Linked DNA regions of Homo sapiens: region 1 is linked to region 2. Evidence: promoter capture Hi-C in 16 types of primary human blood cells and fetal thymus (Javierre and others, 2016). All regions are on one chromosome and are shown on one strand. The core of a region is centred on a gene start or on the middle of the fragment in contact, and the rest is flanking DNA. Distances in the headings are between cores, read along the strand shown. Region 1 overlaps IRF2 (interferon regulatory factor 2). Region 2 holds the start of IRF2 (interferon regulatory factor 2).

What was found. Contacts are between HindIII fragments. The CHiCAGO score rates a contact against its expected background, and 5 or more counts as called.
Region 1: a fragment that was not itself captured here is called in contact with the fragment with the promoter of IRF2 in region 2 in 1 of 17 cell types (naive B cells); the score reaches 5.0 in naive B cells.

Annotation. Positions count from the first base shown.
Region 1 is chr4:184,434,676-184,437,522 of GRCh38, reverse strand. All of the region lies in intron 1 of IRF2 (interferon regulatory factor 2), which reads left to right. Among named protein-coding and RNA genes, the nearest start is that of IRF2, 38 kb to the left of the region's middle. The HindIII fragment of the contact is 810 bases long and covers 934-1,743 here.
Region 2 is chr4:184,473,258-184,475,957 of GRCh38, reverse strand. IRF2 (interferon regulatory factor 2) reads left to right here and starts at 1,408. Exons shown (of 9, transcript NM_002199.4): 1 at 1,408-1,579. IRF2-DT (IRF2 divergent transcript) reads right to left here and starts at 1,156. Exons shown (of 1, transcript NR_186573.1): 1 at 1-1,156. RefSeq lists enhancers at 370-699, 1,050-1,239 and silencers at 1,270-1,389, 2,200-2,249, 2,330-2,700. The HindIII fragment of the contact is 7,048 bases long and covers 1,286-2,700 here.

The sequences.
Region 1 (2,847 bases), core at 89-2,588, 38 kb after region 2:
CTAATCTCTAAAATGATGATAATAGGCTGGGCACGGTGACTTATGCCTCTAACCTTAGCAGTTTGGGAGGTTGAAGTAGGAGGATCACTTGAGGCCAGGAGTTCAAACCAACCCGGGCAACATAGGTAGTGAAACCCCTGTTTCTACAAAAATATTTTAAAAAATTAGGCCAGGCGCGGTGGCTCATGCCTGTAATCCCAGGACTTTGGGAGGCCAAAGCAGGTGGATCATCAGGTCAAGAGTTCAAGACCAGCCTGACCAACATGGTGAAACCCCGTCTCGACTAAAAATACAAAAAAATTAGCTGGGCGTGGTGGCGCATGCCTGTAATCTCAGCTACTCAGGAGACTGAGGCAGGAGAATTGCTTGAACCCGGGAGGCAGAGGTTGCAGTGAGCCAAGATTGCACGACTATACTCTAGCCTGGGTGACAGAGCGAGACTCCATCTCAAAAAACCCGAAAAACAAAAAATTAGCTGGGTGTAGTGGATGCACCTGTAGTCCTGGGTACTTGAGAGGCTGAGGTGAGAGGCTCTCTTGAACCCAGGAAGTCAGGACTGTAGTGAGCTAGGATTGCACCACTGCACTCTAGTCTGGGTGACAGAGTGAGACCTGTCTCAAAAATAAAATGAAAAAATAAAATGGGGATACTAGTATTTAACTGGTTAGAGCTGTTATGAGAGTTAAAGATGATTGATGTGAAATACCCAGTGCTTGCTTCTCACACACCAGTGACTCTTATGAAGACACCCCTGTTGGTGCATAAGACAGTTGCTCTGCTCACATCAGCAAACACATCTTCAGTCCTGCTTTGGCCGCCGATACCAACCTTTTACCTCCCCTGGCTTGCCTGCCACCTTCTCCCTGCCTAGACAGCACCTCCCCATCCATTAAGGTCTTCCTTTACCATAAAGCTTTCCTTTGCCATAAAGCTTTCTCTTATATGCCCATTTAACAATGATTTATGTATTCCTTATGAACTACCTAACTTAGTTGGCAATTAATAATACACTACCTTCTGATCTTTATTGCATAGTCTTTTATTATTATAATTATAGGATTATTAGTTAGCTTTATGTGATTTATCTCTCACATCCTCAGTTAACTTATTTGTTCCTTGAGGGTAGTGATCATGTCTTACCGTCTTTGAATCCCCCACAGCACTCAGCACAGTTCCTTGTAACAATGTGTGTTTAATGAATTTTTGCTGATCCATTGGGTGACTGGGTAATAAGAAAAGGCGTTCCATGGCCGGGCGCAGTGGCTCACGCCTGTAATCCCAGCACTTTGGGAGGCCAAAGTGGGCGGATCACGAGGTCAAGAGATTGAGATCATCCTGGCCAACATGATGAAACCCTGTCTCTACTGAGAATACAAAAATTAGCTGGGCATGGTGGTGGGCACCTGTAGTCCCAGCTACTCCGGAGGCTGAGGCAGGAGAATTGCTTGAACCTGGGAGGCAGAGGTTGCAGTGAGTCGAGTTCGAGCCACTGCACTCCAGCCCAACGACAGAGCGAGACTCTGTCTCAAAAAAAAAAAGAAAAAAGAAAAAGAAAAAGAAAAAAGAAAAGCTCCAGAGATAATATGAATCCTAGGGTAATGTTATGTTCCTCAAGATCTGATTTCTATTTACTTTTGGTAGTTCCAGGTCATTTTCATTAGATCAGGGATTGAGATGATTCAAAGCTGGGCTTCAGCCTTTGATATTAGTTTATTTCTACTTAGTTGTATTACTTACAAAGCTTGTGAGGGTGTTTCCAGGAACCCCTTTTCCTAGCTGCATCCTGATGTTCAATTTTTGTCTCCTCAGTCACCTGAGTGTGTCAAAAGCTCTGCTTTCAAAGCCCCACAGCCTCCTCTTCAGAAAGGAGCAGCTGTCCCTGCGCTAGGACGACAGCAGCCCTAAATGTCAGGTTCACCTTCCTGGGTTTCTTTTTCTCCTAGATCTTGCCCCCCTAATTTTTAACTACCTTGTTAGCTCTCTGATGCATTTAAATGGATTTTAAAAATATATTTTGTCCATGTTTCTTAGTTATTCAGCCTGGGAGTCAGGTCTGAATTACCTACTGTACCATTACCAGAAGCACCACCCCCCTCTCAGCTAAGGAATTTATTACCTTAAATCCAGCAGGCACATTTAGAAGTCTCTGGAACAGAGAATTAACATGATTAAATGGTATTTTAGGAAGATGACTGTCAGTGGTTTGCAAGACGGAGAGGAGTTTGGAAAGTCTCAGTAAGTAGAACAATTAAGAGGTCTTCATAACTCAGTGCTTTCTAAAGTACGATGAAGGCAGAGGTTAGAGTGGATAAGCCTGGGTGTTTCACGTTAGATAGGCCTGAATTTAAATGAGAGTCTTGGCTCTCCACTTACTAGCAGGTAATAAAGGATAATAAAGTCCCTATGTCCTAGGGTTGTAAGGGTTAAATGGCAAAACTTGTAGAAAACCCTAGGTTTTTTATTTTCTATTTTTAGAGAGGGGCTGTCTTTCTGCCACCCAGGCTGGAATGCAGTGGTGTGATCATGGCTCACTGCAGCCTCGAACTCCTGGCTTCAAGTGATTGTCCCACCTCAGCCTCCCAAGGAGCTGAAAAGACAGGTGTGTCCCACCACACCTAGCAAGAAAACCCTAGTTTTAATGCCCAGCACATAGTAGGTGCTCTGTAAATGGTAACCGTTGCTCTTACTATTCCAAGAACCAAAATTCAGTTATTTGGGTGAAAATTCAACCTCACTGTTAATAGCACTAATCATGGATAGTACTGTCAACTTCATGGGGGATCATTCGTGACTTACGAATCACAATGAATAGCTTGCATGCCTTATATAGCAGGCTTGGCACCAGTG
Region 2 (2,700 bases), core at 159-2,658:
AGTGAGTATTATAATAGAGGGGATAAGGAATAATGTGTATGTGAGGTCTATTTCTGAGACCAGAGCCACAAAACAGAATCCTGCACCTTAGCCATTTTCTTACCACACGCGTTTTCTTGGATACTTCCATTTTTCCAGTCTATATAATTCAATACTTCTGTGACAGAGAGGTGTTGGAGTTTTTTGTTTTGCTTTTGTTTTTTCGCAACTCTTTACATACAAACAGCTATGGTCTCCCAGGAAGGAACTTCCTCTGTTGAGTACAGAAGTCTGGGAAAAGACTGGTGAAATTGCATGCGAGGAAGAAACAGGTCTAACTAAATGTGAATCTATACTTTTAAAGCAAGGGACCACAAAGGGTAGGTCCCAAGGAAGTTGCATTGCTTGCTGCACTTGTCACACGGGCTGTACTTTCTTCTCTCATTTATTTCCATTTACAGCGTTGAAAACTGAGGCCTTAGGCTTTGGTTGAAAACCGAGGCCAAGGGTGACCAGCCAGTGAGTTAAGGAGGCCCCAGCCGAACTTTGCTGGAAGTGCTCCAGCATAAAGCCTCTCTCCAGAACCAGCCGCCACTGAGACGTCTTGAAGTCAAAGTAACTCACACCCTTGTCCACCTCGCCCTGCGGTGAAGAAACTTCGGTCGCACAGGCTCCAGAACTCATCTTGGCGTGGGCTGTGACTTACTGGGGGATGGGCCTCCTTTTCGTTCTAGCTCCTAAATGGAGCGGAGCGCCAGGTGGTGTCAGAGGGGGCGGCGGCCCCTCCAATGGTGGCACCCTCAGCCACGGATAAGGTTCCAATTAGGTAAGGACGCAAGTAATGCTGTCGTTTCGGCTGACTGCTCCTTTCATTCCTTGGAGGTGGTCGGTGTCACAAAACGAATTTTCATTTACTCTCAACAGTCACACCAGCCCTGCTAACTGGATGGTCGCAGCCCCGTGCCTTCGCCGGACGCCCTCCTGGAACCTTCAGGCCACCCTGAGGATGGAGACTCGGGTGCCCGCTCTCCTCCCCTACCGCCGCGGGCCTGCGCCCCCCGCCCCGGACCCCGACTCGGACGTTCTAGCCGCACGTGCGGGCGCCCCTGGGTGCGAGCCGCGGACTCACGAGCCGCTGCTTGTTGCTCCCGCCGCCGCGACCTGGGGAAGCGAAAATGAAATTGACTTTTCCGAGAAATGATGAAAGCGGCGCTGCCCGCCAATGAGCTGCTGCGGCGAACTTCCGCACCTCCCGGCCGGGCCGCTCGCGCCCTCCCTCCGCCTCCACCTCCCGGTTGCACAAGCTTGAAACAAACACTGGGGAGGAAGGGCGGAGGGAGGAGGGCGGAGAGGGGAGGCGAGGGAGGGAGCGCGGCCGGAGGAGGGCGGGGGGTGGGGGGATTTCCAGCCGCGGCTCTTCGCAGTTTCCTCTCCTTGTTTTGCTTTCGATCTGGACTGTTCTCAGGCAAGCCGGGGAGTAACTTTTAGTTTTGCTCCTGCGATTATTCAACTGACGGGCTTTCATTTCCATTTCACATACCCTAGCAACACTTATACCTTGCGGAATTGTATTGGTAGCGTGAAAAAAGCACACTGAGAGGTAACATTTTTCAAATAATAGTTGTGACTGTGTGTGTTTCTCTCGAGGGCATGTTTCTGGGGACTGTGGGGGGCCGTGTGTGTATGCGTGTCCTGATGCCTTGACACGATGTTTTGCAGACGGAAAATGCCGGGGTTCATAAATATTAATACTGATTTTTGGAGGAACAGTCGGCGCAATTATGGATCATCTGATTTTAGGGGAAGCAGGTTCTGCTGCTGTTGCTGCTGCTACTGGGGCTGCTGAGGCTGCGAGGAGGAGGAGGAGGAGGAGGTAGAGAGGGAGGAGGAGGAGGAGGTTGGTGGAGGTTTAATTTCACTTTTGGATTTGCAGATGCGGAGAGGTGGCTCCATGGACACAGACCTGCTGTGTGTGCTTCTGCGCCCCAGGTGTTGTGTGTGGGGGTGCAGGTCAGCTGGAGTCGGGCCTCATTTAAAACAAAATTGTGTGTATGTGCGTGTTTGTGTGTGCGCGCGTGTGTGTGTGTGCAGCCACCGCCGCCACCGGATCCGAAGGAGGGGAGCGGGTCCTTCTCGGTGCCCGCGGCGGCGCCTCTCCAGGCTGCCTCCAGCGTAAATAAGCAGGCACCGCTCCCCGGCCGGGAGGAGCGCCTCCAGCCACGGCCAGAGGAAACTTGCTGGGGCGCCCCGCGGCGGTCCAGGGGCTCGCCTGCCTGCCGGGCTCGGGGTCGGGTCGCGGGCGTCGGGTGCCAGCGGCCGGGGCGGGAGGGCGGGCTCGGAGCCGGGCCGGGCGCCGGGCCTGGCCGACGCGCCCTGCTTCCTGGGGGCTGGGCCGCCGCCGCCGCCGCTCAGAAGGGACGCCGCGTCCTCCTTCCCGCCGGCCAGCGCCCGGTCGGGCCCTGGGGCTTTGTCATTGCACTTGTCCCAGCGCGCCAGGGGCTCGGGCGGCGCGTCCCAGGAAGGCACCGTGCCGAGGGGTCAGCCGCCCGGGCCGCGGCCTAGCGCCGTGCGCCCCCGGGTCCCCGCAGGCGCCCCCGGCCGGCCTCGCGCGCTGGGCCTGACCCGCCTCGGCTACGGAGCGGGCGAGGTGGGGGCGGGGAGCCTCCGGGGACCGAGCGGCGCAGTGGGGGCCGGCGTCCCCTCGGGGTCCCGGGGCGCGGG